Regions from separate parts of the Homo sapiens genome. Here region 2 is linked to region 1. The links are contacts of gene promoters, found by promoter capture Hi-C in blood cells and fetal thymus (Javierre and others, 2016). All regions are on one chromosome and are shown on one strand. The core of a region is centred on a gene start or on the middle of the fragment in contact, and the rest is flanking DNA. Distances in the headings are between cores, read along the strand shown.

Region 1 (6,448 bases), core at 2,876-5,375:
TTACAAAACAACCTAAAACACTGATTAATCTAAATAAACCATGGTATATAGGACTCTTCCACCAAGAATTAAAGAACAGCTTTATAAAATAATTTTGTATTAAACAAATAATTTACAGTGAGAGCCTCACTTTTGTCACCACCATCAAGGAAAAAAATGTGCTGATACTTCAGCAAAAGAAAGGAAAATTCAAGAAGGAAACTTTTGATATTGAGGTCCCTTTGCTGAAGGAACAGAATAGAGTTTCTTCATTTAATGTGCATACAACTCACTTAAAGGTCTTGTTAAAATGTTGATTCCGATTGGCTGAGTTCAGAGTGGGGCCTAAGAATCTGCATTTGCAACAAGCTTCCAGGCGATTCTAATGTTGAAGGTCCGTGAACCTCACTATGATAGCAAAGGACATTATGAAAATGCCTTCTCCAGAGATGTTTAAAAATAGAAACACAGGTATATCTAATTGGTGTAATTTCCTTTAACCACTGAGTAGAAAAAAATAGATGATGTTATTCCCACACAATAAAAATTTAAATATAATTACAAGTGCTACCGGAAAAATCAGAGTACTAAACTAGGTCTTTTGCAAAGAAAAGATGCCCTGAGAAAAAGCAAAGACTGAAAATTTACAAGAAAAACCCATGAGATGCTTTACTCACTTCCACAGACCTACAAAGTTCACTCTTCTAACAGGGGTAGTTAGCCCCTTCCTTCTGGAAGAATGGTTTGCATTTCCAATAATGTAGTGAAAGAAACTACGGCTGCCATTAAATAAAGCCCAATTATAATGAAGATACTAGTTACGATGCAACATAATTAAAGGAGCATCATGTCATTGCACGTAAAAAAAATTAGGCTTTAAAATGTTCTATAAGAATATGCTATTAAAAAGAAAAGCTTAAAATTATTTCGACAAAATCCACACTGAATGATTTCCACTAATCATGTCTATGTTAGCAGTAGTAAAATCCTTCCACGTCAAAATAGTACTTCCACATGTAAAGTCATACATTCAAACATCAAGACAAAGCAACCACTCTACAAACCCTTCCAGGAAACTCTGCCAATGCCAAGCCTCTGCTCAGGATGTGTCACAAGTAGAGGGAGGTCTTCTCATTTGCTCTGCAACATCACAGATAGTTGTTACTAGTCTTGCCCAAGAGAAGTTCTTCACAGAAAACCTCAACTGTGGGAGACGACCTAGTGACAGCAGTTCCTTCACTGCCCAATACTTCTCCTCTCAGATGAAGGTTTTGGTCACTCCAGTAATGACAGAGTTACAAAGAGCTTAACCCAACAGAATTCTGCACCTGCTGTGTAAGTCAGAACAGCTAAACCTCCTGTGACATCAACACAGGATATTTCTTACAACAAAGTAAATCCAAAACGTTTGGATGATCCATGGGAACAACATTCATAAAAATCTGTACGCAACACGATTTTACACAACCAGCACAAAAAGTCTCATATTTTAATGGCTATTAGAGAAACTCAAAATAACGCACATACACCACACAATGTACATGCAGTTCTATTCTGCAGAGCCACATGAAATCAAAAGCAACTAACTTGGATTCATTAGAAATATTTAAAAATACAAGCAGGCACGCCCTTGGCTTGTAAACACTGACCTTCCCTTCCAACTAGCATATTGAAATTTCCTTTTTCACCTAAACATTTTAGGAAAGCCTGGGTTGACATTTGAAATATATCCCATTTGCCATCCCACACTGAATAATGAATTATAGAGATGGCATTTAGAAGGGAAATTCCCTGTGTCCTGGCCGAGACTAAACATGAGAACACTGGGAACCATCTCCTTCTGACTAGATGCCAGTCAAGAGGCCTTGGTGGTCTGCCCTTCTCCACCCTCTCCCCAGTCACAGCTGTGAAAAATATGTATACAAAAAATACATATAAACAAACACAAACGCAGTGTTACTGTCATAATCCCATTAATTACGCCCGGACACTTAACTTGGCTACCTCAATCAATAGAAATCTGAATACCAATTTAGCCCCCATCATGACACTCATACACCTAATAATCCTTAATAAAGCATCCAAATAATGCAACTGTACTTGACTTAGAAAAAGCAAACGATGAAAACAAAATACAAGCTAAAGGAATCATTTACTATCCATTAAAAAACATATAAATTCCTTTTAAAACAACCTACTGAATTTTAATATACTTATAAATGTCTTAGTGACATAAAACCCAAAATGCATTAATCATTTCATTTAAAAATGGTTTCCTACAGAAAAAATGCATACTTGGTATTAACCAAAGACAGACGAGGTACTGTAATGTCACAGTTGTGAAGGTCCAATTAATAAACACCAACTTTTCACGTAGAAAAAATTAATGCATAGCTGGGTTGTGGTTACAGATTATGGACGATCCACAGAAAAACGCTGCGACTCCCCACACTGCAACATTGCCTCCGCACACCACTGGGCCCAGTCCTTCCTGCAGCCCCTCCCTATGGCTCAGGTCCCCTGGTCGCAGATCAGATTCCGATCCGCAACCACAGGCCGGCTCCCCTCTGCCTGCACTGGTGATGCAGGGCGCCCCTCCGGCAGAGCGCAGCCCAAGAAGAGGTGCAGGAGGGATCATCCCAAAAGAAAAGACTCTCCCCTGCTCACACCTAGCTGACCTGGTCCTCCTGACGCCACATCCAGCAGAAGCTGCAGGACAAGGTAGCAGCAGCTCCAGGCCTCGGCCAAGGGCAGCCCCGGGCCTGGGTGGGGCCGGGCGGGGGCCGCAGGCGCCGAGCGGCCGTGCCAAGCCCCGCCAGCGAGAACCAAGGAAGCTGCGATACTGCTGCATTGTGCTGCATCACGGCGAGGGCACCGTGAGCCATCCATCTTGCCAAAAAAGCACATCCCCGCCCAAATAAACCCCACCGAATTCAATTTTCTGCTCCGCCGAAGCACCCCCACACGCACCCTGTCCTCACTTACTATCTGGCCTGGCTTTCGATTGGAAAAATAATGGACAGAGGTTTGCGTTCTGATCCCCACCCCCTCCTCATCTGATGGCAGCAGTTGGCACCTTTCCTATCACAAAAACAAAGAGAAGGCGCCCCCTAAAAGAGGGCCGTGGGCGTGGTGTGGGGGGTGATGACGAGCCAGCCCACCTACCCAAAGCAGGCCCGGAGGGTCCCTGCGCTGAGACAAACCTGTTGAAGAGAGGGTGGCAGGAGCTGAAGGGCGGGCGCAGCGGCGGCTCGGCGCCCGGAGGCGGCTCACGCCCAGCCCTGGGAGAGTGGGGACGGCAGAAAGGGCGGGGGGGGGGCGGGCGCACGAGGGTAGCAAGCGCAGGGATGGGGCGGAGGTGGGGGCGCGGGGCCGCCGCCTCCGGCTCAGCTGCAGCGCGGCGCAGCCGGGACCACGCCTGGCCGCATCCCCTGCACCGCTACGCGCAGAGCCCGGCCCTGTCACCGCCGCCCCCGCTCCCCACCCGCGGGGCCACAGAGAGGGCACCTGAAAATAGACCCTCCGGCTGTCCGCTGTCCGCTCCGCACCCACCTCCGCGCCAGGGGCCTCCGCGTCAGGGGCCGCCGCGCCCGGCTGCAGGGAGGCGCCGGCGGAGGCAGGGAGGAGGAATCGCCGCGCCGCGCCGGGGCTGGGGCCGGACGGCAGCGGTGCGCACGGCGGGTCTGCTGCCGCCTCACCGCAGAGCCTGCCGCCCCTCGTCCCGCATCATCCGAGTACCAATGAGCACCCGCGACCCGGGCTCCCCGCGCCGCCCCCGCCCGGGCTTTGCAGCCTCCCTGCCCCCACGCGGCTCCCCGGGCGCAGGGCAGGCGGGCAGCGGCGTCCTCCGGCCCTGGGCCCGCGCCCCTCCTCCCGCCCGTCCGCCGCCGCGGAGCCCACCCGGGAGGCAGCCCCAGTGAGTTGGCATCTCCCTGCCTCGGGCCCCCTACCTACCTCCCGGGGATGGGGTGGGGGCGCCGGGGTCCCGTCCTCCTCCCGCTCCTCGGCGGCCGGGCGGGTGGGCCGGGAGGCGACTCCGCGGGTCTGTCCGCGGCTGGGGCCGGGGCTCACAGGACGGGACCAGTGGGCGCTGCTGCGCAGGGCTGCGCGCTCGCTCCGGGAGGAGAGGCGGCCGAGGGAGGGACTGGAGGAATCCGCAGCCTGCACGGCAACAGCGGCACTGATTCCGGGGGCTGGGCGGGAGCGCGGGGGGCGGGGGGAGGAGGAGAGGAGGGCGCTCGCAGGGAGGGGGCGAGGGGCGGGGAGAGGAGCGCGCGGGGCGGGCGCGCGCGCACACACACACAAGCGCACTCCCGGGATCCCTCCCGCACGCCCTCCGCCCTCCGCACTCCTCCCTCCCCACTCCCGCCCGCTCCCTCTGCTTCGCCCGCCCTCTCCTCCTGCCCGGAGCCCCGCAGCCGCCCAGGGAGCCGAGCCTCGGGCGCGTCCACGTCCTCTCCAGCTGAGGCTCTTCCCGGGTCCAGCCCGGACCTCATCCTCCCAGCGGCGGGGACCGACCAGGCTGGCCGGGGCGGGGTGGGCACTGCTGCTGCCGCTACCCGAGCAGGACAATAGGGGCTTTGTCTCCACAGCCGGAGAGGGCCAATTTCACGTTTAATTTGAGGCTAATTCGATTATCGCCATGGAAAGAGGCGGTCTAATTTTCTACGTGATTTGTGCAGCCTCTTTTCGCCCTTGATGTTGCGTTCGGAATGCTGGGGAGAGAGGGTATTTAGGGAGGTTTTGGAGCGTCACTTGCTTGGTTGGTTTGAGATGCAGTTGGTGATGCCTTATAGGTTCTACCCAACTTGGAGAAGGGCGACGGCGACCTCTTCGTGGGAAACCTTGGGCGCTGGAGGATGGGTGGTGGGGGTCGTTCCTTGTGAGGTTAATGTATTCTTTTGCAAATGCTTTTTCGCCCACCCTTTCGCTTTGGGTAGCTGGGAGCAGACCCTACAAGTGGTTCATCCAACTCCTGCCTCTCAGTGCAGGCTCCGCTCGAACCTGAGGCCAGGTGCCCTGCCCCAGTCACTCCCGAGAGAGGGGTCGTCCGGCCGCGGTGGAGGGCCCCGTGATGGCGTGGGGACTTGCGTTTTCCCCTATGCGCATTCCCTGAAACGGAAACTGGACGTTTCCTCAAATTTTTGTCATGTGCCACTGCCCCTTCCCAGTCACCTGGTCTACCCCGTCAGCCCCTCAGGCTGTGTAGAAATTCCAGAACCGTCACTGTTGTGAAGAAAAGATGGTGGAATCACCAGGACCACGAATGGAAACGCTCTTTAGAAAAGCAGTTTGAAGAAACTGACTTTCTCCTTGTTCTGTAAAGTGCACAGGGCGGCACTGCGGGCATTCAGAGGGAGGAGGGCCCTTCCTGTTTGAAAAAGCCCCAGGGCTTTTTCCCCATACAGACCTGATCACCTGGATTAAAATAAAACAAAAATACACGGCAGCCAAGTAGTTTGTATCATGCTTATATCTCAGATCACTAGAACCTGGCCTGATGGGTTTATATGTTTGTATGTATTTTTAAATGAATATTTTAAAATAAAACTCAGTGAAATCGTCACAGCAAACTGAAGATGATTCTTCCTTTTAGGCCTTCATAGGTTTGAATGTTTGAACCTATGTTTACTTTTGATAGGAAAAAAATTGAGGAAAGCAAATAACATTTTTTCTCAGAAGGTGAATCAACACAACCAGACCGTAAACTCTCTTAAAGGTAGGGTTATTTCTTTCTTCACTCTGTACATATAGCAGGCACTTAGGTACTAAAACAAATTTGTTGAATTGAACACAATCAACTTGTAAGCTGCTGCCCTCATTAGGTAATAAGGGAAATCCACTAGAAAGCAAAGTTGTTTGCCTTTCACTTACTTATTTTTTTACCATGGACCCCAGCACCTCCCCACTCACAATGTTAATGAAATACCAAAGAAAACAGTAACAATATTGGGAAGTGCATCCATTTAAATTAATTCTTCCAGTGTTATTCTGAAATGGTTATTCCTTTATCACAGACAACGGTATTTAAATAAATTTTCATTTGATGAATGATTCACCTCCCTTACCCCATTCCACTCCCACTTACGTTGTTTTTTAATTAAAAAAAAAAAAAAGGCCACACACACCTTAGCAAGGTACTCTAGTAAAGCCCCAGTAATTATTCCAAAAATGTGAAAGACAAGGATTCAGAGTTCTACTGTAAATACCTGCATCACAATTTTGAATTCTTACCCTTAGGTGCAAAAAATCACCCTAGAGAACTCAGTGTACCAACGACCAAAAAGAAGTAACAATTCAAAGAAAAGATAGTACAACTGGAAAGATTATTGGAGAAGACATTTTTATGGAAGGCAAAATCTAAAAAAGATAAAAAGTCTTAGGCAGTGATAACAGCTCAGAAGGATTATTCCCATGTATCTCAGAAGCGGCTTAGTTTCTTCTCATATTAGAATCAGGGTTGATATAA
Region 2 (6,365 bases), core at 3,740-6,239, 240 kb after region 1:
GATTTATTTTTTCTTTCTTCCTTCCAAAAAAAAATCCCAATTTAATGTGGATGGAAAGCACCCAGTTAATAATACCTTTCAAAACTCCCTGGAAGATGCCCGTTTGACCCTAGTTCTGACTAAAGAGATAAGAGCAGAAGTTTATTTGTAGAGACCTCCAGAAAAGCTACTGTTTTCCTAATAGAAAGGGACAGAAACAACATAAATATGGATGCCTGGAGGTGGAAAAGCCTCATGTGATCTCAAGGACAAAAGCTACATGTTAAGGACAGAAAAACTGGGGACACTGATGAGAACCTAGTACCACTATACCACCCCTAGACTGACTACCTCTAGGCTTCTTGTTATTTGAAAGGAAAAAAACACAAAAACCTTCCTGTTTGGTTATGTTACTTTAATTGGATTTCCACCAAATGAAGCAAAATGCAATCCTAAATAAAACATCTTAACACGACTTTTATGAATAAAAATTTTAAAATAATTACCAAACAACTCTTCAATGTTTAGTATCATGCTGTAACACAGAAGATACAAAAATAAATACATATGATCCCTGTTCTCCAGAAGCTGTCAATTGAATACAAGACATAAATGATTAATACAAGTTGAATTGTGATTCATGTAAGAAATATTTACTAAGCACAGGTATACAATATATATGTAGCACACCAGCAGAGGGACCAACAAGGATAGAAAGGTCAATCAGTCAAGGAGTCAAGGATGAGATCCTCAGAGTGTACAGTCTCATAGATATGTTAACAAATAGGAAGAAGACAATGTGCAGGACTAAGTGGTATAAAAAAGACACAAATTAATTCTACCTTTAATGAAGAACAAGACTACTTTTCACTGAGGAGATCAAGAACAAGTTTTTTCATGCAGAAGGTACACTTGTGAAGGAACTTGAAAACTGGGTGAGATACAGGTTGTGGGAATGGGGGTAGAATGAGGGAGAGTTTGCATTATTAGGGGACAAGGGAGAAAGAGAACTCAAAAAGTGGTAACAAGGTTTTGGAGTAGCATAATGGTAGCAATATTACCAGAAGGTAATACAGTGAGATGGTATATTTGGGGAAGATAAATAAAGAGTTGGATGTGGAGCCATACTTAATCTTAACAAAGCAGACAAAAAACTAGCTTTTTTCAACCCTCATCTCACTCCAGTTATCATGCTATTCTCTACTCCCTTTCACATCCTGCTAAAGGCATGTGTTTGACAATTATCTACGTAATACTCTTACTTTTTTTTAACCCATGATCTTTTCCCCAAGCTGACTTTATCATGTTAAAGATTCATCTGAAATAAATAATTAATAGTGAAACTCTGGCCAGGCACATACAGGCTCACGCCTGTAATCTCAGTACTTTGGGAAGCCGAGGCAGGGGGATCGCTTGAGCTCAGGAATTCAAGACCAACCTGGGCAACACGGTGAAACCCCATCTATACCAAAAAAATACAAAAAAAAAATAGCCAGGGACAGTGGTGTGCACCTGTGGTCCTAGCTACTCGGGAGGCTAAGGTAGGAAAGTCGCTTGAGCCCAGGAGGTAGAGGCCACAGTGAGCTGTGATTGCACCACTGAACTCCAGCCTGGGTGACAGAGCAAGACCCTGTCTCAAAACAAACAAACAAACAAAAAACCTAGAGCTGTGCTGTCCAAAATAATATTATTTTACTTGAATAAAATAATTAATTTTTTCAGTATCATCAGCCACAGTTCAAGTGCTCAGTGGCCACAAGTATTAGACATTGGGAGAATACTCCTGTAATTACAGAAAGTTCTATTGGACAGTGATGACCTAAAGCCTCTCTGAAGTTGGGAATAAGGAAAGGAAGCCCTGATATCACCACAGTTTTTCAGCACTTTTCTAGACCAGGTTTGAATCTATGCAATGGGTCAAGAAAGGAAAATGAGATCTAAAGAATGGAATTACTGTTTCTACGGGAAACCTAAGGAAATAAAATAAAAATATATTAGAACAAATAAATGATTTACAAGTATGATATGAAACAAATATAATCAGATTCACATATATTTGCACTAGTAATCATCAGAGCAAGTGAGAAAGGGCTTCCACTTACAATAGAAACAAAGAATAAGATATTGTAAAATAAACTTAACAAGAATGTGCAGTAGCTATATGACAAGCTAAAAATGTGATTAGACCTCAGTGCAGTAGCTCACGCTTGTAATTCCAGCACTTTGGAAGGCCAAGGCGGGTGGATCACTTGAGGCCAAGAGTTTGAGACTAGCCTGGCCAACATGGTAAAACCCCATCTCTACCAAAATACAAAAATTAGCCAGGTGTGGTGGTGTGTGTCTGTAGTCCCAGCTACTCAGGAGACTGAGGCATGAAAATCGCTTGAACTCAGGAGGCTGAAGTTGCAGTGAGCTGAGACTGCGCCACTGCGTTCCAGCCTAGGTGACATAGCGATACTCTGTCTCAAAAAAAAAAAAATGTAAACGTGATTAGGAGTTAAAAAAAAAAGATTCATCAATAGAGATATATTTTATATTATTTGATGGGACAATATTATAAATATGTCACTCTCCCCAAATTAATCTTCATATTTAATATAATTCCAATAAAATGTCAAGTTGTAAAATATTTGTATAATTTGACAAATTATTCTAGACATATCTGGAAGATGATCAGCTGTTAGACAAGCCAAAAAACTTTGAGAAAAAGAGGGGTTTTGCTCAACCAGACATCAACTGAAGCATATTATAAACCCTCGATAATCAAAACAGTATAAATCTGGCACAGAAATAGATCATAGAACTAAATATAAAAGTTTAGGGACAGACCTAATTATTTATATGGATTATTGCTTGTGACAAAACCAGCATCTTAAATTAGCAGGGGGATGAATTATTTAACAAAGTTTTTTAGAAAAAATTAAAGTTAGATTCCTGGCTCATAACACATAAGAAAAATTCTACATTGGCTAAAGTCTTTAGTGTTAAAACAGATGAAAACAGAGCTGAATAATTTAAAAATATTTGTATCAGGGAGGAATTCCTCAGCCTGATCCCAAATGCAGAAACCATAACAAGACTGACAGATTGGACTCACAGAAATGTAAATGTAAATGTAAAATGTTTGTGTTTTTTGGCACAAACTCCATATAAAGACAGTTTTTAAATGACCTAATTTTCATCAGTATAAGCTTTATTAAATACATTTATTTATTTTATACATAAATACAATGGAATGTCTTGCAGCCATTAGTAATGATTACAGGGAAATATATTTACTGACATGGAAAGAGAGTCAGAAAAATGATTACACCTAACTATGCATAGTATGCTTCCAGTTTTATAAGAAATTATATACCTTGTTATAAATTTACACAATTTATTGTGAAGTTACAAGTCTGGAAGAATATATGCCCAAACCACAATAGCAGCTATCTACAAGATGGTATCATGGTATCATAGTAAGTATTTTTCTTTTGATTTAATCTATATCTTCTGATTTTTCTAAAAGTAAACATGTATTACTTGGGTAATAAATAAAATGTATTTTTAAGTTCTTTTGATAAAATAACCAAGACACTCAACAAACCAGGCATCAAAGGAACATACTTCAAAATAATAAGAGCCATCTATAACAAACCCACAGCCAACATCATACTCAATAGGCAAAAGCTGGAAGCATTCTCCTTGAAGACTGGCACAAGACAAGGATGCCCTCTCTCACCATTCCTATTCAACATAGTACTAGAAGTCCTAGCCAGAGCAATTAGGCAAGAAAAAGAAATAAAAGGATTCCAAACAGGAGGAGAGGAAGTCAAACTTTCTCTCTTAGCAGACAATGTAATTCTATACGTAGAAAACCCCAAAGTCTCTGCCCAAAGGTTCCTAGATCTGATAAACAACTTCGAAGTTTCAGGATACAAAATCAATATACAAAAATCAGTAGCATTTCTATGTGTCAGTAACATCCAAGCTGAGAGCCAAACCAAAATTGCAGTTCTATTCATAGTAGCCACAAAAAGAATAAAATACCTAGTAATATAGCTAACTAGGAAGGTGAAAGATCTCTACAACAAGAATTACAAAACACTGCTGAAAAACATCAGATATGATACAAACAAATGGAAAAACATTCCATGCTCACAGATAGGAAGAATCAATATTGTTAAGATGGCCATACTGTCCTAAGCAATTTGCAGATTTGATGCCATTCCTATCAAACTACCAATGACATTTTTCACAGAATTAGAAAAAACTCTTCTAAAATTCATATGGAACCAAAATGTTTGAATAGCCAAAGCAATCCTAAGCAGAAAACAAAAACAGAAAAAGCAAATCCAGAGACATCACACTGCCTGACTTCAAGCTACACTACAAGGCTACAGTAACCAAAAGTGTGCTATACTGGTACAAAAACAGACACATAGACCAATGAAACAGATTAGAGAACCCAGAAATAAAGCCACACATGTTCAGCCATCTGATCTTTGACAAAGTTGACAATAACAAGCAATGGGAAAAGGACTCCCTATTCGATAAGTGGTGCTGAGATAACTGGCTAGCCATATGCAGAAGATTGAAACTGGACTCCTTCCTTTCACCATATAAAAAAGCAACACAAGATGGATTAAAGACTTAAACGTGAAATGTATAACTATAAAAACCCTAGAAGAAAACCTGGGAAATGAGATTCTAGACGTAGGCCCTGGCAAAGATTTCATGACAAAGACTCCAAAAGCAATTGCAACAAAAACAAAAATTGACAAGTAGGACCTAATTAAATTAAGGAGCTTCTGCACAGCAAAATAAACTATCAGCAGAGTAAACAGACAACCTATGGAATGGAAGAAAATATTTGCAAATTATGCATCCAACAAAGCTCGAATATCCAGAATCTATAAGGAACTTAAACGAATTAACAAGCAAAAACCAAACAACCCCATTAAAAAAATGGGCAAAGATGGCTAGGCATGGGCGCTCATGCCTGTAATCCCAGCACTTCAGGAGGCTGAGGTGGTAGAACTGCTTGAGTCCAGGAGTTCAAGACCAGGGAGATCTTGTCGCTACAAAAAAATAAAAATAAAAAAATAACCAGGTGTGGTGGCATGCCCCTGTGGTCTTAGCTACTTGGGAGGCTGAGGCAGGAGGATCGCTTGGGCCCGGGAGGTTGAGGCTATAGTGAGCAGCGTTCATGCCACTGCACTCCAGCCTGCCTGGGCAATAGAGTGATATCCTGTCTCAAAAAAAAGTAGGGGGTGTGGGGTGGGGGGCAAAGGACATCAACAGATAGTTCTCAAATGAACGCATACACAGAGCCAACAGCACATGAAAAAATGCTCAACATCACTAATCATTAGAGAAATGCATATCAAAACCACAATGAGATACCACCTCATACCAGTCAGAATGGCTACTATTAAAAAGTCAAAAAATAACAGATGCTGGCGAGGTTGCAGAGAAAAGGGAATGCTTATACACTGCTGGTGGGAATAAATTAGAAAGCAGTTTGGAGATTTCTCAAAGAACTTAAAACAGAACTGCTATTTGACCCAGAAATCTCATTACTGGGTCTATACCCAAAGGAATATAAATCATTCTACCATAAAGACACGTGCACGTATATGTTTATCACAGTACTATTCATAAGAGCAAAGACATGGAATCCATCTAGATGCCCATTAATGGTGGAATGGATAAAGAAAATGTGGTACATATACACCATGGAATACTACACAGCCACAAAAAAGAGTGAAATCATGTCCTTTGCAGCAACATGGATAGAACTGGAGGCCATTATGCTAAGCGAATTAATGCAGAAACAGAAAACCAAATACCAATGTTCTCTCTTAAAAATGGGAGCTAAACACTGGGTACACATGGACACAAAGAAGGGAACAACAGACACTAGCGACCACTTGAGGGTGGAGGGTGGGAGGAGGGTGACCATCGAAAAACTATCAGGTACTAGGCTCATTAGTTGAGTAATGAAATAATGTGTACACCAAACAACTGTGACATGCAATTTACCCATGTAACAAATCTGCACATGTATCCCCTGAACCTAAAATAAAAGTTGGAGAAAAAACAGCCATGACATTTAAAAAAAAAAAAAAAGTAAAGTGGCAGCTTCTATTTAAATGAGTGTATTTCTAGATGGTGAGATTACAGGTGATTTAAATTTACTTCTTTACATTAAACTTTTTGAATATTTTTGTACAAGAATATATTTACTCTTTTTGTCAAAATGAAATAAACGTAATTTATCAACTGTGTTTGGCTACTGTGCTGCTGCAGATTACACAACTACTTTAGAAAAGGAATCTGCTGACCACATGGGTGAGCTGACTAATGAGGAATGCATATTAGCTCCTCTGTACCACATCCTT

The links. Contacts are between HindIII fragments. The CHiCAGO score rates a contact against its expected background, and 5 or more counts as called.
Region 2: a contact is called between a fragment that was not itself captured here and the fragment with the promoter of SPTBN1 in region 1, in 1 of 17 cell types (endothelial precursors). The highest score is 5.2, in endothelial precursors.

Annotation. Positions count from the first base shown.
Region 1 is chr2:54,454,004-54,460,451 of GRCh38, reverse strand. SPTBN1 (spectrin beta, non-erythrocytic 1) reads right to left here and starts at 4,125. Exons shown (of 36, transcript NM_003128.3): 1 at 3,934-4,125. The HindIII fragment of the contact is 18,714 bases long and covers 897-6,448 here.
Region 2 is chr2:54,212,636-54,219,000 of GRCh38, reverse strand. All of the region lies in intron 3 of ACYP2 (acylphosphatase 2), which reads right to left. Among named protein-coding and RNA genes, the nearest start is that of TSPYL6, 40 kb to the left of the region's middle. The HindIII fragment of the contact is 3,633 bases long and covers 3,173-6,365 here.